Regions from separate parts of the Homo sapiens genome. Here all the other regions are linked to region 5. Evidence: promoter capture Hi-C in 16 types of primary human blood cells and fetal thymus (Javierre and others, 2016). All regions are on one chromosome and are shown on one strand. Each heading gives the region's core, a stretch centred on a gene start or on the middle of the fragment in contact. The rest is flanking DNA. Distances are from core to core; before and after follow the strand shown. Region 1 has its middle 17 kb from the start of RAET1L. Region 2 overlaps LATS1 (large tumor suppressor kinase 1). Region 3 has its middle 12 kb from the start of ULBP3. Region 4 overlaps PCMT1 (protein-L-isoaspartate (D-aspartate) O-methyltransferase). Region 5 holds the start of ZBTB2 (zinc finger and BTB domain containing 2). Region 6 holds the start of GINM1 (glycosylated integral membrane protein 1). Region 7 overlaps PPIL4 (peptidylprolyl isomerase like 4).

Region 1 (3,069 bases), core at 542-3,041, 1.4 Mb after region 5:
CAGAAACAAGGAAGTGTAGCTAAGAATAACCGAGAATTACAGCTAGGAAAATTATCAGGAAAATGGGGCTGGAGGTGGCACGTGAAAGGGATAGGAAAACATGCTGAGACTTCTAAAATTAGGAATAAAACAAAACCAATAATACCAATAAATGTGAATACATATTGGTATGAGTCATAGGTTAAGGGCAGCCACCCTGAGAAGAAAACTAGAATGTATAACTTTTAAACCAACAGAAAAGAACCCTCAGTATACTAAATGGAACACAGCTACGGAGGGGAAATGCCAGCATTAAAAAACACAATAAATACATGTGCACCAGGCACAGTGGCTCACGCCTGTAATCCCTGCACTTTGGGAGGCCGAGGTGGGAGGATCGCTTGAGCTCAGGAGTTCAAGACCACCCTTTGCAATATAGGCAGACCCCATCTCTACAAACAAATACAGAAAATTAGCCCAGTGGGTGGCGCATGCTTGTAGTCCTGGCTACTCGGAGGCTGAGGCAGTAAGATGGCCTGAGCCCAGGAGTTAGAGGCTGCAGTGAGCTATGACCACGCCATTGCACTCCAGCCTGGACAACAGAGAGAGCTAGTATCAAAAAAAAAATAAAAAATAAAAAAATGGCATAGCTAAATCCTAAACAGTAATAATTAACAATAAACGTGAATTACTAAACTCATCACATAAATCAGCGAAACTCCCAGGTTGGATTTTAAAATATCGAATAATATACAGTATTTTAAAAAGGCAATGTTAAATGTAAAGATTAAAAATAAAAGGTGCTGTATCTGCCAAGAAAGGCTACTTTGTTTTTTTGTATTTGTTTCTTTTAGCGACTACAATATGCTTTATAGTTCTTGGAAAGGACTCAGGGTTTGGCTTTAAATCAGGCTGCACGCTCTTCATCAGTCTCACATCTCTCTCCCCATGCCAGGCTGGCTCCAGCCTGCAATGCTGCATTACATTCCAGGGAGACATTCAGGAGCTTACAGAAGCCTCCCCTCCTCCTGGCCTCCCTGCAGTCCAAGAACCCCCATGACCCCTGTTTAGGGTCCAGCCTGGAACTCACCGACCCGACCCACCCTGGACCATCCTGGCACCAGGAACAGAAGCTGGATGCAGACACCCAACTCTGTGCCAGCACCTGTGCCACTGGGGACCTGGAGCCCAGGGCGTGACACACCCGGAGGAAACAGAGGGCCCCCACGTGAGTCACCGAGGCTCTCGATGCTGTCACAGCTCCAGTGGCCCCGCCCCGCCCACTTGCAACTCCAGGCCCTGGGGCTGGAAATACTTGGATCCTGGCTCCCTCTCAGACCCTAACCCTTCTTTTCTCCTTCACTTTCCTCCTGGCCCCCTTATCTTTTCCCAATGCCATTCCTGCTTTCAGACTCATTCCTTTTTTGCTTAAATACAAGATTTTCGGCTAGGGCGTAGTGGCTCACAGCTTTAATCCCAACACTTTCCGAGGCCAAGGCTGGCGGATCATGAGGTCAGGAGTTCGAGACCAGCCTGGCCAACATAGTGAAACCCCGTCTCTACTAAAAATAAAAATAAAAATAATTAGCCAGGTGTGGTGGTAGGTGTTTGTAATCCTAGCTACTGAGAAGGCTGAGGCAGGAGAATCACTTGAACCAAGGAGGTGGAGGTTGCAGTGAACGAAGATTGTGCCACTGCATACCAGCCCGGGCAACAGTACAAGATTCCGTCAAAAATAATAAAATAATAATAATAATAATAATGACAACAACAATAACAAAGGCAAGATTTTCCTGGCCATGGTGCGCCCTAGGCTCAGTCAAACCATATGAAGACAGCAGTTTGCTGTCCATCATCACACTATGTTTTCTAGAAGTTTCTATCCTGATGAAGCACCCCAGACTGGTTGAAAACCAAAGTTACTCTTCCTTGGAAAATCTTTGTGGACACCCAGGTGGGCATACAAATTTCCAAGTTGTGGCCGGGAGCAGTGGCTCACACCTGTAATCCCAGCACTTTGAGAGGCCAAGGCAGGTGGATCACCTGAGGCCAGGAGATCGAGACCAGCCTGGCCAACATGGTGAGACCCTGTCTCTACTAAAATTGCAAAAATTAGCCAGGCACAGTGGCAGGCACCTATAATCCCAGCTACTTGGGAGGCTGAGGCAGGAGAATCACTTGAATCCAGGAGCCGGAGGTTGCACTGAGCTGAGATCATCCCACTGAACTCCAGCTTGAGCAATAGAGCAAGACTTCGCCTCAAAAAAAAAAAAGTAGGGACATGGATGAAGCTGGAAACCATCATTCTCAGCAAACTATCCCAAGGACAAAAAACCAAACACCGCATGTTCTCACTCATAGATGGGAATTGAACAATGACAACACTTGGACACAGGAAGGGGAACATCACACACCAGGGCCTGTTGCGGGGTAGGGGGAGGGGGAAGGGATAGCATTAGGAGATATACCTAATGTAAATGACCAGTTAATGGGTGCAGCACACCAACATGGCACATGTATACATATGTAATAAACCTGCATGTTGTGCACATGTACCCTAGAACTTAAAGTATAATTAAAAAAAAAAAACTAAAACACGAAAAATGGGCAAAAAAATTTTACCAACCTCAATGCTGCCACCTTCAGGCCCCTGGAGGTTACATCCTCCGCTCCAGCTCCCCTCTGCACCTGTGCTATTCCTCCCAGCCCCACTCACTCCCACAACTGTCTCATTCATTCACTGGTTCACTCAGCCTCCAACCACACTTACATCATGTCAGGCTCACCAGGTGATGGAGAAAAAAATCATCCTCTGTGGGTCTGAAAAACATGCCTGAGTCCTGATTGCGGGTCTCGCTTTCATTTCCACCCCCTCACAGCACACTCAGGGCCATGAAGAGGCCGCGGCCTGGGTTCAGAGCTCCAGCTCTCCTCAGGGTGGGCCTGGCAGTTGCTGACTTCAGGGAGGGCGGCAGGGCTCACAACTGAAATAGGAGACCTGCCCTGGGTCCTTAGCATGTGCAAGGACAGGGTTCCTTGTAGAATCTGCTCATTTCATCTGTGTTCATAGCATTTGTCATTTTCCACATG
Region 2 (3,020 bases), core at 410-2,909, 1.7 Mb after region 5:
GGAACTCTCCCATCCATTGTTTTAATGATCATCCTTGACCACCTGTGAAGTGTGTGTTGTACCTTCCCTTTGGAACGTACAAATCTTTTTCAACTAGCTTCTTGCTCATAGAAGTCGGGGACCCAAGGGTTTTAAATTTTGAATAGACAAGAAGATTTTTTTAGTATGAACTTGAGATGATTTAAGAAAAAAAAATTTCATTTTGTTTTTTGAGATGGAGTCTCACCCTGTCACCCAGGCTAGAGTGCAGTGGCACAATCTCCGCTCACTGCAACCTCCGCCTCCCAGGTTCAAGCAATTCTTCTGCCTCAGCCTCCTGAGTAGCTGGGACTACAGGCACATGCCACCACGCCCAGCTAATTTTTGTATTTTTTAGTAGAGATGAGGTTTCACCTTATTGGCCAGGCTGGTCTCAAACTCCTGACCTCGTGATCCGCCTGTCTCGGCCTCCCAAAGTGCTGGAATTACAGGTGTGAGGCACCGTGCCCGGCCAAAAGATATTTTTTTTTTTTTTAACAAAACAGTTTCTTTAAAGTTAGTAAGCCTCTTCCGATCTGTTTGGTTTCCTTCAGTTCTATGTGTCAGTAACCACAGTCGAAGTTCACATGTATTGGTAAACTCATCCAAAGATTTAAGAGCGTCTATTCCTCCTCCTCTCATTTGGTTGTTTGAGGCTATTAGGTTTGATGGGAAGGCTACGTCTTTAATATGGTCTTAACCACAGAAGCACTAGTTAGCTAAGGGGTTTCAGTGGGCATCTGTGCTCAGTCTTTTAATCCTGCCTCTAGGGGTCTAGGTACAAGCTGCTTTTCCAATCCTTCAAGGCTTTAAATTTCTGAACTTTTTCTATTCTCTTCTGTTTTTGCTTTCAAATCTACTACTTCCTTCTTGAACTCATCATTTACTTATAATACTTGCCAAATATCTAATAGCAGCCAATACTCACTTCCAAAATCCTCTTTACCAAACTCCTATAACACTACAAGGTCAGTAGCCTCTTTGTATGTTCACTGACCTTGTAGTTGTATGAAAAGTTATTATAGGCAACAGCGTTACCAGATATTTTGCCACTATAAAACATGATCCTCCATCTTTCCAGCCTCCGGTATCTGTTTCCTCTCAGCCCTTAATCTGACCACTAAGGCAGTATCACTAAGGCAGGACTGCATAGGTTTTTATTGTAGCAGCACCTCACTTCCAGGTACCAGTTTTCTGTATTAGGATAATGAAACACTGAATATACAGATGGACAATGGCCAGATCATATATAAAACTAGAACTCTGACCCATGACCTATGTAGCAATAGGCCCAGTCAGGACTTGGTCAGTAATTACCAGCTTCCCTAATTTTTGTGCCTTCTTCCAATTCGGGACGACTCAGAGAAAGCCAAATATGCTTCCCAAATCAACCACATAGGATACCCCGCTTCCAGTGTCGACGAAGAGTCAAACTCTGTAAAATATTTTAAGAGATCTATTCTAAGCCAAATATGAATGGCTATTGCCCCATGACACAGCCCTCAGGAGCTCCTGAGAACATGTGCCCAAGGTGATCAGACTACAGCTTGGTTTTATACATTTTAGGGAGACATAAGACATCAATCAGTATATGTAAGATGTACATTGGTTAGGTCCAGAAAGGAAGACACCTTGAAGCAGATGGCTTCCAGGTCATAGGTAGATTCACAGATTTTCTGATTGGCAGTTGGTCGAAAGAGTTGTTACTGTCTAAAGACCTAGAATCAATAGAAGGGAGTATCTAGGTTAAGATAAGGGGTTGTGGGCAGGCACAGTGGCTCACGCCTGTAATCCCAACACCTTGGGAGGCCGAGGCAGGTGGATCACGAGGTCAGGAGTTCAAGACCAGCTTGGCCAACATAGTGAAACCCCATCTCTACTAAAAATACAAAAATTAGCGAGGCATGGTAGCGCACGCCTGTAATCCCAGCTACTCAGGAGGCTGAGGCAGGAGAATCACTTGAAACCGGGAGGCGGAGATTGTGGTGAGCCAAGATCAAGCCACTGCATTCCAACCTGGGCAACAGAGTGAGACTCCATCTAAAAAAAAAAAAAAAAAAAAAAAAAAGATAAGGGGTTGTGGAGACCAGGGTTCCCATTATGCAGATAGAATCAATAGGAAGGAATGTCTGAGCCAAGGTAAGGGGTTGTGGAGACCAAAGTTCCCATTATGTAAAGGAAGCCTCCAGGTGGCAGGCTTCAGAGATAATACATTGTAAATGTTTCTTATCAGGGTTGATTCTCTCCTGGATCAGGCAAAAGGCCTGAGAAAGGAAGGGAATTAACTTCAGAATGTAGATTTTCCGCACAAGAGACAGCTTTGCAGGACTGTTTGAAGATATGGCAAAGAAACATAATTTGGGGTCAAATACTTGGATTTCTTTCAGGGCCTGCCATCTGTCATGTGATACTATGCTAGAGTCAGGCTGGAATTGGGTATCTTATTGCTACAGAGAGTCTGTTTTGTCAGTCTTAAGATTTGTTTTAATGTTAGTGCTGGTCAGCTGTGCCTGAATTCCAACAGGGAGGAGGGAATAATGAGGTATGGCCAAACTCCGCTTCCCATCATGGCTGGAACTAGTTTTTCAGGTTAACTTTCAAATGCTCTTGGCTGGGAGGAGGGGTTCATTCAGATGGTTGAAGGACTTAGAATTTTATTTTTGGTTTACATCAGTTAGCCCACCTCCAGTTTCCCATGCCAACAACCTACAATCAGAGCATACCTGATGTCTTCCCCCTTTTTTTAGTATAAAGATTTCCCACTCCCCTGCTTGCCTTTGAATCTTTGCCAAGCACAAGTTGACAGTGGCTGACTCCCTACCTATATAGTAAGATCTAATTAAATAGCCTTTGTTTGTTTCCATTTGGGCAGTCTTTGTCTATTTTCACAATGTTATTAGGCTGTTTTGTGGTAACAAATCCCCAAATATCAATGGCTTAACACAACAGAAATGTTTCTCTTGCTCAGAGTTCAGTGGGAGTCAGTAGGGTTCTCCATCCAG
Region 3 (2,792 bases), core at 162-2,661, 1.3 Mb after region 5:
AACACCTCTCACACAAACAGCTATCAAGAGATAATTTAAATGTTTTCTAGGGAGGCCGAGGTGAACAAATCGCTTGAGGCCAGAAGTTCAAGACCAGCCTGGCCAACATGGTGAAATGCTATCTCTACTAAAAATACAAAAATTAGCTGGGTGTGGTGGTACATGCCTGTAATTTCAGCTACTGCCGCGAGGGGGTGGGGGTTGGGGGTTGGGGGCTGAGGCAAGAGGATTGCATGAGCCCAGGAGGCAGAGTTTGCAGTGAGCTGAGATTGCCTGGGTGACAGAGAGAGACCCTGTCTAAAAAAAAAAAAAAAAAAAAATTTAAATTTAACATTTATGAGGGCCTTTTTTCTATGAAGTTGCCTGTATTTCCATTTTTTTTTTCAAAAAGTATATCTGTATTGGAGTTAAAAATGGTTTGATGGAATAATATTTCAACTAACTGAAATTATATTTTAATTATTATCCATCTCCAATATTTATTATAGTCCTAGTGTACAGTTTGTTGAGCCCATATTTTCCCTGAGGACTGAAGTCACTGTGAGTAAACTGCCACAAGGTTATTTTATTTCTGGAGGTTGTCTCCCCTAAGTACTGTGAAAACCTATCCTCTTGACGGGGTGCCAACATGGACATTTTCTCATTCACCGAGTAGGAGAAGTCTGCAGGCACTTTTCATTATTTAAGAATTCATGGCCCGGCGCGGTGGCTCATGCCTGTAATTTGGAAGGCCGAGGCAGGCGGATCACGAGGTCGGGAGATCGAGACCATCCTGGCTAACACGGTGAAACCCCACCTCTACTAAAAATACAAAAAAATTAGCCGGTGCGGTGGCGGACACCTGTAGTCCCAGCTACTCGGGAGGCTGAGGCAGGAGAATGGTGTGAACCCGGGAGGCGGAGCTTGCAGTGAGCCGGGATCCCGCCACTGCACTCCAGCCTGGGTGACAGAGCGAGACTCCGTCTCAGAAAAAAAAAAAAAAAAGAATTCACAGCAAAAGATAAAAGCTTTTATTTTTGTTATTTATTTTTGTTTTATGAACGTGGCCCTTTCAGCTTTATAAGAACAATCCATATCGGTGTGCGAAAACCACACACAACCACTCTCCCGAGGAACACACATCCAGGTAGCCGAAGCCTGAATGAAACAGTATGTTTGCCCTTGGTTTTCATGGAAGCCTCAGGTCCTCCTACCGCCTCCCCAAGGCCTGTGCTCATAGCTTTTCTAGACCCTAGGAGACTGGACCCGGGCAGCCCGCTCACCTCTGCCTCGCTCTTTAACTGCAGCGCCCTCTGGTGTACGTCTTGATTTTAGCAGCCGAAGTCACTGGCCCTGTGTCATGCTGCTGGTGCGTCCTGGTGGTAGTTTTATCTTCTGTTTCTCTCAGGTAGCATCTAGAGATAAGTTAGAACGACAAGAGTTTGTAAGAAAAAAATAACAATAAAAACTCTGGAAGCCAGATTCTCCAATGCCCACCATAAAATGCCAAGGAAATAACCTCACTCTCCCCTAAGGACCTGGAGACATTGGCTTAGGAACTCACCTCATTTAGGGCAACTGCCTCATCTGAAAGACAAGAAATGAACACCCGGAGGAGTTAAGTGGCTTGTCAGGCTGATACAGTGAGTTGGGTTGACCACCTAGGCCTTCTGCTATCTATGATGGAAAGAGCTACAATTCACTGAGTATTTATTACCACGAGCCAAGCACCATGCTAAGTCTATTACAGGCATTGGCTTATTTGAGGCCCACAGCAATATATTGAGGTGGGTACTATCATGATGCCTATTTTACACACAGAGAAGCATAAGCTTTGCAATCAAGACTGAGGAAACGTGCATGCTCCATGTCACACAAACACAGGTTTTGAAGCAGGCAGTCTGACTGCAGGGCCGGTGCTTGAAACCACTACTGATCTTACTGTCTTTGTGGCAATTGTATACTTAGATATGGATATGCACATATGTAGATACATGGATACAGGTGTATGGATGTACATGAATTTACACGTGTATGATATATCAGTAAGCAAGATATGGTATCATTTTGCATATTTTGAAACTTAAACCAAATGGTATTATAATTGTATGTACTTGGAGGGCAGATGGGGGAAGGATAAATCCATTCACCTGCTTTCTGCTGTGCCTTCCTATACTACAGAAACAGGAAAGCTAAAAACTACATTTCCCAGACTCCTTTACAACCAGAGTCAGGATGTGGTGCAGATTCAGTCACTCTAATGTGGGGGAATTGCAGCAGGGACCAGGCATCTGCTGCTCTTGCTGCCAAGCCCAGCAGGGGAGATATTCAGGTTTCTGGGCAGCATTAGCTGAGGTCTTGGGCTCTGGTCGCTGGCTCTGAGGTGCTGAGAGCAGGGCACGTGGCATCCACTTTGAAGCTGAAAATCTTCGCAGGCACAGTGGGGTCTGGAGCAGGCAACAGCGGATGTGGCTTCTGAGGGTGGTAGGTTTCTGATTATGGATGGATTCCTTCCTTGTCTTGGTGGCTTCCTAACTGTGGCAGTAGTGATGTGGTAAAGAGTCAGCAGCCTTTTGATCCTAGTGGCTCACATGGGCTTTGGATGGCTTCATGGGGCTATGCAAACAGATGTTGGAGTCCAGAGTCTGCCAAGAGTGGGACTGGACCCTCGGAGTAAAGGTGGACTGAAGATCAACCAGTCTTCAAACAGAAGGCAGTCCAGGTTCAAGGCTTCTGAATGTCCCAAAATATCTCAATTCCTGCAGCAAAATTCAAGCAATTTTATAGCTACAAAGTGCCTGATATAAGCAAAT
Region 4 (2,950 bases), core at 223-2,722, 1.6 Mb after region 5:
CCTGTAAGTCCCAGCTACTCGGGAGGCTAAGACACGAGAATCACTTAAACCGGAGAGGCAGAGGTTGCAGTGAGCCAAGATCACACCACTGCATTCCAGCTTAGGCAACAGAGTGAGACTCTGTCTCAAAAAATAAAATAAAATATTTTTTAAATCATAAAATCTAGGTACAAGGGACCACTGGGGAAAAAAATCACAGAATCTTGGATTTGGAAGGGTCCTTAGAGATCTAGTGTACATTCAAATCTGATGACAAAATCCCTTCTACAATATCCCTTACAGTGAAATGGTCAACCATTCTTTGCTTCAACATATTTGGTGACAGAAAACACTTTTTCAAAGCCAACTTTTTGATTGTTAGGATAGCTTTGTGAATACTTACTTATAATGAGCCAAAATCTGCCTCCCATTTGTCCTGGTTTGACCCTCTACTACATGACATTTCTTCAAATTTAAACACCACTGCTCCCTAAAGGTTTTGCTAAACCAAACCACCTCCATCCCTTCAAAGCACCATGTAAGATGCTGATCCTCTTGTTATCTTCATCACTCTTATCCAATAATCTTTAGTTTTACACTGCCACCCTGAAAGCATTTAACCAAAGCTAAATATAATATTAATAAAAATATTTTTGTAACAGCACAATCGAATCTTTCCCCTCCTACAGCCTAAGATCTCATTAACCAGAATGTAATACAGCCAAGCATCAAGATCTACTGCAATCCAAAAGAACCTTCAGTGATGGCAGATCTATTCTCTATCTGCACTGTCCAACAGGGTGGGCACTAGCTCCATGTGGCTACTGAGCTCTTGAAATGTGGCTAATATGACTAAAGATATAAATTTTTAATTTTATTTATTTATGTATTTATTTTGAGGCAGTTTCGCTTTTTCACCCAGGCTGGGGTACAATGGAGCGATCTCAGGTCACTGCAAACTCCACTCCCCGGGTTCAAGCGATTCTCCTGCTTCAGCCTCCGAGTAGCTGGGATTATAGGCTCCTGTCACCATGCCCAGCTAATTTTTGTATTTTTAGTAGAGACGGGTTTTCGCATTGTTGGCCAGGCTGGTCTGGTACCCCTGACCTCAGGTGATCCACCCACCTCGGCCTCCCAAAGTGCTAGGATTACAGGCATGACCCACCACGCCCGGCCAATTTTATTTATTTTTATATAATTTAAATTTAAATATATACATAGGATTTCAAGTTTACTTACTAGTACCTATCCATAAGACTGGTTTGAAATAAGTCAAAATGAGAAGGCCTCTGGACTTTGAGGCTCCAATTTCTTAGGATTTTACCAGCTGGTTCTATTTTTCCCATGTGCATACAAAAGTAGTGGAATATTAAGAGTAAATGCTGGCTGGGCGCAGGGGCTCATGCCTATAATCCCAGCAATATTGGAGACTGAGGCGGGTGGATCACTTGAGCCCAGGGGTTTGAGACCTGCCTGGGCAACATGACAAAACCCCGTCTCTACCAAAAAAAAAAAAAAAAAAAAAAAAAAAAAAAAGCCAGTCATGGTGGTGTGCATCTGTAGTCCCAGTTACTCGGGAGGCTGAGATGGAGGAGTCGCTTGAACCCAGGAAACAGAGGTTGCAGTGAGCTAAGATCACGCCACGGCACTCCAGCTTGGGCGACAGAAAGAGGCTCTGTCTCAAAAAAAAAAAAAGGGAAAGAATAAATGCTCTTTTCTACTAGCAACACCTACTAGTGGCTAAGAACTGGTGCTGTAGATAGAAAATAATTTCATTATTTACAAAAGTAAATGCTTTTAGGATATAAAAACTACAAATCATAATTCTTGCATATTCAAATGCCTACTAAAAATCTCGACTTAAATGTCTTATAAGAAAAGCATTCCTCAAAATAATCTGATCTCCCACAGTCCCCTCCTCACAGAATAAACGTGGCTGCTCACTCACTCACCATTTCCAATTTAGAAAATGGCAAATCATTCCAGTTGCCAAGGCCTAAAACCTTGGTGTTGGATCCTTGCCTCCAATCTTTTCTCCCAGATCCTAAATCCAAATCTGGAATTCGCTATTTCTTCTGCCTGGAATGCTTATCCCAAGTCTACCTGCGTGATATGTGTCTACTCCTCCAGCAAATCTTTGGTCTAATGATACCTTACTGAGGCCTTCTCTACAACTATAAACCTACTGCCCCACACACTCTGTCCTCCCTCCCTACTTTGTCACTTATCATGTGACATACTATACTTGGCTGCTCCCATTAGAAGCTACAAGAGGGAGTGGATGTTTGTTTTGTTCACTGCTGTATCCCCAGTGCCTGTCATATAGAAAGCACTAAAATATCAGCTGACTAAATGACAAATTCCATAAACATTATATATGTAAAATGACAAAATCAAGAATGCAAAAGAAACATAAGTAGAAACAATTGATCATTAGGGGAATGGACTGAATTATTTTTACAAATAAAAATAGATAAAAGAACAATTGCTTTCAGTGGTCAGTACAGTAGTTTCCCTTTACCCACAGGAAATACGGTCCAAGACCCTTAATAGATGCCTGAAACCGCATACAATACCAAAGCCCATACAGCCCATACAGATACTCAACATTTTTTTTTTTTTGAGACAAAGTATTGCTCCATCACCCAGGCTCGAGTGCAGTGGCATGATCTTGGCTTACTGCACCCTCAACCTCTCGGGCTCAAGTGATCCTCCCATCTCAGCCTCCCACGTAGCTCATGTAGCTGAGACTACAGGCATGCACCATAATGCCCAGCTAATTTTGTTTATTTTTTGTAGAGAAAATGACAAATGTTATTTTCACTATGTTGCCTAGGCTGGTCTCAAACTCCTGGACTGAAGCGATCCTCCTGACTCAGCCTCCCAAAGTTCTGAGATTACAGGTGTGAGCCACCGCACTCGGCCTTCCTTAACTTATAACAGGTTTATTATGACAGGTTTACATCCAGTA
Region 5 (2,851 bases), core at 267-2,766:
TCCAGTGACAGCGGTGCAGTAGAATACTTAGATCAGGGTCAGAATTTGGTTTTGGAGGCAGACATTTACCCACTAAAGTCATTTATCTAGCTGATCAAAAAACAGGAAAGTTCAAAGCGAGTATACACTGAATCTATTATCCATTTGAGAGCCACTGAAGCTACACAGCTGCTTATTTTGTCTTCAAAGAAGGAATTAGTCATCAGTACCTGCAGGTATAACTGGATTTCTAAATCAAACTCAGATTTTTAGGAGGGACACTTCTATGTATTAAATTGTCTTAAGATGGTAAGCTTGCCTTAAATGATTTGTAAACTATGTGCCAGGCATTGTGCTAGTGGTCAGACTGTGTAAACCAAAATGGGTTAGACATCACAACCAAGTTAGCATGCCTTGAAACCAGAGTATCCTAGAAACTGCTGCCTCCACTTCCTTAGGAATAAAGCCATATCCTTTCTAAATCTCAAAAAATCCTAGATGTGTAAAGAAATCATTAAATTCTAGTCCTCAAAGGACTGTATTTCCCCAAAAAAGACACGGATTCTAGAAAAATGGCAACAACCAAAAAGTAAACTTTAAAATGTTAAAAATGACCATCAGGAAATTCTAACTTCCCTGCCATGTTTCCGTGTTTCAGGATCTCCCCGTTAAAAGATTTTCCACACCTCTAAATCTAACAGAATAGCCAACTCTGGAATCCATACCTCAAAGACCAAAACCTAACAGGAGAATAAACTGTTCTCTTAACAAACATGCGTTGCAGACTTTCATTTTTGGGGGGGCCAAAACTTCAAAAACGAAAATCGTTGCTGAAATAACCATGAAATTCAACCCTAACAGAAACATCTTACGCCGCTCAACTCATCTGCAAGGTAAAGGAAGCACCTCTGCCTCTGTGCACGCTACAGGAATCTGTACTTCAGCATGACTTTCAGTTACCATTGGTGACACAAAGATACTGCTGGTTTACAGTATCTCCCCGGTTCTAAAGGCCACTCCATTTCAAGTCTTAAAGATTAAAACAAACACGAAAAGTCAAGGGACAAGGGTAAAGGCCAAGAGATCTCAAGCAGAAGCCGGCAGAAGGATACGAGCAGTGGCTCTCCATCTCTACCCCGAGCATCTCAAGGACTTGTGCTACCTAAACACTTTATGTAAACAAGGGGCTTGTGACTCAGGCCTCCAGCCCCAATAGGTGGAGAGAAGTTTCCTCGCCTCGGCTGCACATGGTCTGCAGAAGTTTGGCTGGAGCAGAGCGCGGAGCCTGGGTGGGAGCGGCAGTGGAGTGCTGCAGGCGGCGGCGGCGGCGGCAGAGCAGCAGGAGGCGGAGGCGGGCGGGGGGAGGGGAGCGGCTGGGGGGGGGGCGGAGGGGGCTCTTGCCGCCACTGCTCTCTCGCCGCCTCTCCCCCCCGGCGGGAGCCGCTCGCAGCCTCTTTGCACTAGTCTCTCCGCTCTCTCGGTCATGTGACCTTAACGTAACCGGACAGGAAAAGCCCCGCCGCCGCCGCCGCCGCCGCGCCGGAGACACCGACCGCGGCGGCAGCAGCAGCAGCAGCAGCGAGAGGCAGAGGCGGCGGCGGCGGGGAGGACAGCACGGCCGAGGCTGCCCAGAGGCGCCTCCTCCACACCCCCCGCCGCAGCAGCACCGGCGACAGGTAAGCGCGCACCGCCTCCGCCTCCCGGGGCCGGTGCCCACGTGCCACCCCCAGCCCAGGGTCCGGGAAGGCGGTGGGGGGGCGGGGGCCACCGGAGCTCGCAAACGGTTCCGGCAGAGGCGGTGGCAACAAAGACGACGAATGACCCTCGTACCAGGGCTACGGGTGCAGGCAGGCGGAAGGCCCGGGCCACTCGGGGACCCGGTTCTGGGAAGCGAGGGCAGGGGCGCCTCGCGGGGGCGGCGGCGGCTGCGCCTGGCGCCGGGGCTCTGGCCGCTTGACAAAACCATCCCCCGGAGCCAGGCGGCGGCGAGTCGGCGGCGCCTCCATCCGGGGTTTTGTGGGAGGGGGAGGGGACGGAAGCCGAGAGGGCGGGCGGCGGATCGGAGGGAGGGTGGGAGGGAGGAAGGGGAGGGGGGCGATTCGCGTTCGGTTCCCCGTGGCCGGTCCCTCCCTTCCCGCCGCCACCGCGAAGTGCGCCCTGGGCGGCGGCGGCCGGTGAGCGTCCCGCGCTGGAGCCCTCAGAGGCGGGCCCGTCAGGTGCGTAATCCTTCCGACGCCTCGCCGCCGCCTCCTGCTGCTGCCGCCGCTGCTGCTTCGGCGGCAAGGCCGCGAGCTGCGGAAGTGGGTTTGGGGGAGGGGAGGGAGGAGGGAGGGGGAGGGGAGGGATCCGGTCCGACCGGAGCAGGCCCGGCCTCTCTGGCGCTTCTCCCAGCTGCAGCGGCTCCTACAGCTGCTGCCGCTACTGCTGCGGCTCCGCCTCCCGCTCGCGGGCGGGGGCGCGCACGCGCGCTTCCGGCCTCCTCGGGTCTCGCGCTGTCTCCGGCTCTCGCGCGCGCTCATCCCTCTCCCTCTCTCCCTGTCTGGGCCACCCCCGCCCCCGGCGCCGGGGCTGTTGCGCCGGCCGGGGCGTTGCGCACGGCGTAGGCGTCGGCATTGTGTTAAACTCCGCGGGACTTGGGGCGAGCGCGCGCGCGCACGCGGGACTGAGGGAAGCGGCGAGCGTGCAACGCGGCCGGAGTGCGTCGCCCCTCCCTCCCCCTCAGCCCCTCGGGGACGGGGACAGGGAGGGGGCGGGGCCGGCGAGACCGGAGGGGGCCAGAGGGCCCCGGCGCCGCGCCCCCGGCCCCGCCCCGGGGCGGGTGGGACGAGGTGGCTGTTGCGGCGCGCTCAGGCGGGCGGGGGACGCGTCGGCC
Region 6 (3,075 bases), core at 1-2,500, 1.8 Mb after region 5:
CCCTCACCCAGGCTGGAATGCAGTGGCACGATCTCGGCTCACTGCAACCTCTGCCTCCCGGGTTCAAGCAATTCTCCTGTCTCCGCCTCCCGAGTAGCTGGGACTACAGGCACCTGCAACCACGCCCAGCTAATTTTTCTATTTTTAGTAGAGACGGGGTTTCACCTTGTTGGTCAAAGTGACACTTACCGTGCCCTTCGCCTTTGTATTTAGAGTGTTCATATTCAAGTCTTGACTAGGAAGAGGTGTACCGACATAGTTTCTTGTCATTCTCAGAACACTTGCTCTTTAAAATATTCAAACTTTTCCCTACCATTCTACTGAAAAAAGGCTGATACTGGCCTAGGTAGGCACGACTCTACGGCAGGAATGGTGAGCATCAGCCACGTTTTAATGTTAGGATGCCTCGATTCTCCCACCTCAGCTGGCATCAGAAGCACCTGCAGGACTCTCCAACCCGGACTGCTGGGCCCCGCCCCCAGAGGCCGGGCTGAGTCCCCAGGGGATGCGGACACCGCCGATCGCGCCCCGCCGTGAGAACTTCTCCTCCAACATCCGACAAAAACATTACGTCGCGCGAGGGCCAGGTCTCTCCCTCTGCCCACCTGAGCCCGGCGGAGCCCCGCAGCCTCGGAACGGCGGACCCTCGCGATCGCAGGCCGAGCAGGCACAAGTGGCCTGGAAATGCGCGAAGTGGGCAACTTCCACACTTCCCGAGCACACAAACATTCCTTGCCCAAGCGCTGGCTCTACCCCGGGAAGGCGCCATTACGAAGGCCTGATCACCGGCAACCGCGCGCTTCGACGGCAAAGCCCCGTCAGGTCGCGCGCCGGCTTGGGCCGCCGGAGAGTCGGTGTGGAGTGGCTCGAGGCTCACTCACAGCGACGCAGCCCCAGTGGGTCCCTTTCCTCTTACCTCGGCCTCCCACGCCGCCCCCATTTCCTGGGGTGCTTCTCCCCACACCTCCTTCGGGGGCCCGGACCCCCGCCCCTGCCCGCCGGTGGGATGTGGGAAGCGTCACTGTGGACAGCCCGGGCCTCCCGGAGAGTCGGAGTCGTAAAGCGGCCAGCCAGGCCCGCCCTGCCCTACCTGTGGGGCTCCGGACAGCGGCGGCGGCTCGGGGGCGCCCGTCGTCAGCCAGCCGGAGGCGGGTAGCGCCACGAACAGCAGGAGCCGGAGGGCGAGCGACCCCGGTGGAGCGCCCTCCATCTTGGACAACCCGGGCAGAGGGCAGCCGCGGCCGGGAGGTGAGGGCGGAGCCGGCCCGCGGGCGGGACGGAGCTTCGGCGGGAGGGACGGGGAGGGGCGGGGAGAGACGGGGAGGGGCGGGACGGGCCCTCCCCTCCCCGGGCGGCCGCGGAGAGGCGCGGGGACGCTCCGAGATCCGGCTCGCCAGGGAAAGGCGTTTGCGCACGCGCAGCGCCGCGCGGCGTCGAGGGGCGGAGTGAAATCTTGGAAGGTACGGCCCCTCATTAGACCCGCCCTCAGGATTGGACAGGACTCCAACTGGAGCGATGTAAATGTCCTCGTAACCATTATTTTTAAAATTAGTATTTACACACATGCATGTGTCTGTGTGTGCACATGTACATGTACCTATACGATGAAAACAACGGTAATATTTCAGAAAACTGTTATACATTAAAAATGAAACATCGCATTTACAGGGGAAGTTTTTATTAAGTGGGTAATTCCCCACCCTTGGCTGCACGTGGGACTCTCCCGGGCAGCTTTAAAAAGTACTGGGGTCTTCCTGAACACCCCACTTTCCAGCCTGGGCTGCGGCTCGGGCCCTGGTGGTTTTTTAATTTTCTCGGGTGATTCATTGTGGGGCCAAGGTTGAGGATGCGCCATGCTTACTGTTCAGCATTCTGCCGACCCCTGGAGGCGGCGCGGGGACAGCGCTCAGCTGGAAGGAAGCCAGCGCACCTGGGCTGTCAGTGCCTTTTTGGTCAGTATCGTAACTCTAAAGTGAAAGTGTTAGACTTTTCTTCCACCTTGCAGATTTAAAAAAAAAAAAAAGTTACGGAACCCTGTAAAGCAGAGTAGCAAGAAATTCAAGCATTTTAGATTAACAGGATTGCATGTTGATTGAGAAAAACTTGGAAACTTGGCCATTCAGGCAGAATAAGAGTAATATTTAGTCTTCCTTTGAAATAAAACTTTTGACATGAAATAAAACTTTTGACATGAAAAAGGAAACAAGAATCTATTTCTCTCTTTGAGCCCCCTTTACTCCTTTGAACACCCTCCTCCCACAGGCCTGCTGACCGCCACCGCCCCCTCCCCCGGCCCCGCCCCAGAATAAATTATAAACGTTTTGGCTAAAGACTCCTTTCAACTAACTCCGGGCTTACTCTGAGATTCCCCACGCCATTGTTAAGCTACAAGTGATTTCACAGCGAAGCCCCACACACTTCTGGGTTCCATCTGCAAACTTGGCCTTTTCCTTTTTTTCCTACTGCTGGAATTAAAAATGAATTTGGAGATGGGCGTGGTCATTTGTGCCTGTACTCCCAGCTATGCAGCAAACGCAGGCAGGAGGATCGCCTGAGTCTATTAAAAAAAAAAAAAAAAAAAGGAATCTAGAAGCCGGGTGCAGTGGCTCACGCCTGTAATCCCAACACTTTAGGAGGCCGAGGCGGGTGGATCACTTGAGGTCAGGAGTTCGAGAATAGCCTGGCCAACATGGTGAAACCCCATCTCTACTAAAAATACAAAAATTATCCAGGCATACTGGCACGCACCTGTAATTCCAGCTACTAGGGAGGCTGAGGCAGGAGAATCGCTTGAACCCAGGAGGCGAAGGTTGCAGTGAGCCAAGATCGCGCCATTGCACTCCAGCCTGCGCGGTGGAGCGAGACTCCGTCTCCAAAAAAAAAAAAAAGAATCTGGAAGTCAGAAAACATGACATGTGGATCTGTATAATTTGAATTAGTAATATAAGGTTACAAAGTACGTCTATATGAAAAGATAATAGGTAAAGTTGAGGCTCTCTGTTTTCTTACAAAGCCTTTCCCATGGTCTAACTGTCCATTATTCTTTATTGTTTATCTGTCTCGTCAGATAGATGT
Region 7 (2,916 bases), core at 143-2,642, 1.8 Mb after region 5:
ATTCCTCCCTCCTCTCCACCTGGCGAAAACACTACAAACTCTCCCGTACCATTGTTACCATTCTTTTGCTGTTTCTTCTAAACAATATTCTTCTCCACTATTGTCCTTCTGGCAAACTTACTACTTATTATCTAAATCTCAGATCAAGCATCATCTCTTCTTTGAAGCTCTCCCTCCTTTCTAAGCAGAGTTACCTGAGGGTTCCTCTGCTGTGTCTTAGGTCTTTTATAAACCACATGACACATTTTATTTTAACATTTACCTATTATCCTGGTGTTGTTTACAAGCGTGCCCTCGCTCAAGAATGTAAACTCCAATGAGAGCAGGAACTATACCATAATTATCATCTCTATATCCTGAGTACCCAGTACAATGTCTGCTACTTTTAGGGCACACACTAGAGGTTCATTATGATGACTAATGGATATAAATGTGTTGTATTAGTTAGGACCCTTTGTTCAAGTGATAGAAACCCAACTCAAACTGGCATAAACAAAATAATTGGTTGCCTCATAATACTGGGGTAAGCTTGGATCGAGTGGCTGGATCGAGTGTTTCAAAGAATATCATAGGGAATTTTGTTTTTTATCTCTTGATTTTGCTTTTCTTTGAGTTCCTTTGACGCTCTGCCCATGTAGAGTAGCACCTGGCAAAATAAATGGGCCTCTTTTCCCAGAGTTATGAGGAAATAAAGGGGTGTAGAGCTACCCCACCCAATTAACAAGCAGTGGGTCTGCAAAGATAAGCCCATAACAATAAGTCCACCCCCTGTACATATTTGTAAGCATATGACTGGAGATGTGCTTACATGTGTACCTGCTATATTTATACTCACTTATCAATCTATGATCAACATATCCAGACTTACCTACCTTCCATTCTTTCTTCCTTTTCTTTTTTAACTTTTTATTATAGAAAATTTAAAACACAGATGTAGAGAGAATCATGTAAATGAACTCTCATGTCCACATGACCAGCTTTGTTTAACAGCTGTGAACACATAGCCAATCTTGCTTCATTTATAATACCCCCACCTCCAGTGCATCTATTTAATCTGTAATTACTTCAGTATGTATTTCTAAAATATAACGTCTCTTTAAAAAAAACAAGAAAAAATGGAACTATGAGCTTAAGTACCACATAAGTGACAGGTTAAAAAAGAAAAAAAACTTGACAGGGAAAAGGGAAAAATACTAAAGGAAAGAGAAAAAGTTGTAAAAAAGAATAAAAAAACAGAACCACAGATCTTATCACACTTTGAAAAAACTAGCAATAATTTTTAGTATCATTTAAACTTTCTTATTATCTCATAAACTTCTAAAAAATATGGTGATTTAAATTAGGACCCAAAGTCCATATATTGGTTAAAATGTCTCATATATGTTTTAATCTATTGGTTCTCCCCCTTTTTTCCTTGAAAAAATTTTGAGAAACAACCTGGGTGCTTTGTCTTGTAGAATTTCTCTTGTTTGGATTCGACTGATTATTTACTGGGTGCGTTAACATATTTTTGTGTCCCCTGTTTCCTATAAATTGTTCTTTAGCTTCAGAGCCTTGATTAGGTTCCAGTTTAATGTTTTTGGCAAGAATATTTCATATAAGATAGTGTGTACTTTCAGCTGCATCACATTCAGGAGGCACTTGATGTCTGGTTGGCTCTGTGATGTTAAAATTGGTCAGTGGGTTAAGGCCTTGTTGCGCTTATAAATTGTTCCCATCGGATTTTGATGAAAGACCTAAAGATTTTGGCAGCCATTGATGATCATTGCCTAAATTCATTATTTTTGTTTCTAGTAAAAGGACCACCCCTATCTGTTAAACATGAAGCCCAGAAATATATTCAAGAAAAACAACTGCAAGACTGATATTCAGCACTCTTCAACAGCTCAGCCCCATCTTATCTCTCCAGTCTTTTCATGCTCTATTACTGTGTAATACCAGACTATTACAGAACTTTGGTGTTTTGGACCTCCCCTAAAACATTTAAATTTCCACTTCCAGGCCTTTTCATAGTCTTCCAGACCTAAAATGCTCACCCTTCACTCTCTGCTAGTCCAGTTCTTTTAATGCTTGCCTTAACCTTCCCTGAGGTTTTCTAATTTCCCTAGCCAGAAACAATCTTTTGAACTCTTGTGGAATTTTTAAAACTACTTTTTTTACCATTTTAAATAAGTGGCACACATGTTATTAATTAGATATGCCCAGTATGTAACTACTTGTGTTCAGATGTAAGGACCCTAATTTAATGTAAGCTTTTTGAGGGCAGGGATTGCCTCATATATCTTACTGTCTGTTTGGTTTCTAACTTAGTGCCTTAAGAGCTTGTTAATGTGTCTTTCCACGACTAGACTGTGAACTTTTTGGGAGCAGGGACCACAGTTTAATGGCATTTGTGATGGCAGTGTCAGGCATCTAGAAGGTACTCAGTAAATGTTTATTGGATAAGCAGATTAACTTGTATGAGAAAGGTTGTTCATAAGTGTATGGATTTTTATAAAGGGCTGTTTAACTATTATTTAAAAAATGACCCCGGGTGTTTGACTTTTTCCTAATTGATATAATCCGTATCCATTTTTATATATTCTGCTAGATCCTTTTCTACTACAATATGCTCTTTAAGTGTTCTTTTTTCTCGTAATAAAATCAATCCATCAGTAAATGATTGCTTATAAGTGTCAGTTTTCTGTATTAGCCCAGATGCCCCAAAACTCCTATTAAAGGAAAAAAAAAGGTAATTTAAAATGTTTTTTTTCTAGACTTATTGCCCTTTTATTTTATTTTATTTTATTTTATTTTGAGATAGAGTCTTGCTCTATTGCCCAGACTGGAGTGCAGTGGTGCGATCTTGGTTCACTGCAACCTCCACCTCCTGGGTTCAAGTGATTCTCCTGCCTCAGCCTCCCTAGTAGCTGGGAT

What was found. Contacts are between HindIII fragments. The CHiCAGO score rates a contact against its expected background, and 5 or more counts as called.
Region 1: a fragment that was not itself captured here is called in contact with the fragment with the promoter of ZBTB2 in region 5 in 1 of 17 cell types (fetal thymus); the score reaches 5.5 in fetal thymus.
Region 2: a contact is called between a fragment that was not itself captured here and the fragment with the promoter of ZBTB2 in region 5, in 1 of 17 cell types (fetal thymus). The highest score is 6.1, in fetal thymus.
Region 3: a fragment that was not itself captured here is called in contact with the fragment with the promoter of ZBTB2 in region 5 in 1 of 17 cell types (fetal thymus); the score reaches 6.8 in fetal thymus.
Region 4: a fragment that was not itself captured here is called in contact with the fragment with the promoter of ZBTB2 in region 5 in 2 of 17 cell types (fetal thymus and non-activated CD4 T cells); the score reaches 8.4 in fetal thymus.
Region 6: a contact is called between the fragment with the promoter of GINM1 here and the fragment with the promoter of ZBTB2 in region 5, in 3 of 17 cell types (neutrophils, fetal thymus and naive CD4 T cells). The highest score is 8.1, in neutrophils.
Region 7: a fragment that was not itself captured here is called in contact with the fragment with the promoter of ZBTB2 in region 5 in 5 of 17 cell types (fetal thymus, naive CD8 T cells, total CD8 T cells and 2 more); the score reaches 12.1 in fetal thymus.

Annotation. Positions count from the first base shown.
Region 1 is chr6:150,006,867-150,009,935 of GRCh38, reverse strand. No RefSeq gene overlaps it. Among named protein-coding and RNA genes, the nearest start is that of RAET1L, 17 kb to the left of the region's middle. RefSeq lists an enhancer at 2,885-3,069. The HindIII fragment of the contact is 6,353 bases long and covers 1-3,069 here.
Region 2 is chr6:149,708,735-149,711,754 of GRCh38, reverse strand. The region is part of intron 1 of LATS1 (large tumor suppressor kinase 1); the gene reads left to right. Among named protein-coding and RNA genes, the nearest start is that of LATS1, 7.9 kb to the left of the region's middle. The HindIII fragment of the contact is 9,596 bases long and covers 1-3,020 here.
Region 3 is chr6:150,079,331-150,082,122 of GRCh38, reverse strand. No RefSeq gene overlaps it. Among named protein-coding and RNA genes, the nearest start is that of ULBP3, 12 kb to the right of the region's middle. The HindIII fragment of the contact is 804 bases long and covers 1,010-1,813 here.
Region 4 is chr6:149,755,078-149,758,027 of GRCh38, reverse strand. All of the region lies in intron 1 of PCMT1 (protein-L-isoaspartate (D-aspartate) O-methyltransferase), which reads right to left. Among named protein-coding and RNA genes, the nearest start is that of PCMT1, 6.8 kb to the right of the region's middle. The HindIII fragment of the contact is 5,765 bases long and covers 1-2,950 here.
Region 5 is chr6:151,390,224-151,393,074 of GRCh38, reverse strand. It overlaps ZBTB2 (zinc finger and BTB domain containing 2), which reads left to right and starts at 1,516. Exons shown (of 3, transcript NM_020861.3): 1 at 1,516-1,655. LOC124901232 (translation initiation factor IF-2-like) reads right to left here. Exons shown (of 3, transcript XM_047419613.1): 2 at 2,603-2,851; 3 at 1-2,370. The coding sequence ends at 1,471. RefSeq lists an enhancer at 631-1,503 and silencers at 1,485-1,544, 1,555-1,944, 2,025-2,851. The HindIII fragment of the contact is 3,903 bases long and covers 296-2,851 here.
Region 6 is chr6:149,564,550-149,567,624 of GRCh38, reverse strand. GINM1 (glycosylated integral membrane protein 1) reads right to left here and starts at 1,250. Exons shown (of 8, transcript NM_138785.5): 1 at 1,091-1,250. The coding sequence starts at 1,210. RefSeq lists enhancers at 654-703, 1,954-2,083 and a silencer at 974-1,523. The HindIII fragment of the contact is 6,228 bases long and covers 1-3,075 here.
Region 7 is chr6:149,541,894-149,544,809 of GRCh38, reverse strand. All of the region lies in intron 1 of PPIL4 (peptidylprolyl isomerase like 4), which reads left to right. Among named protein-coding and RNA genes, the nearest start is that of PPIL4, 2.7 kb to the left of the region's middle. The HindIII fragment of the contact is 1,724 bases long and covers 531-2,254 here.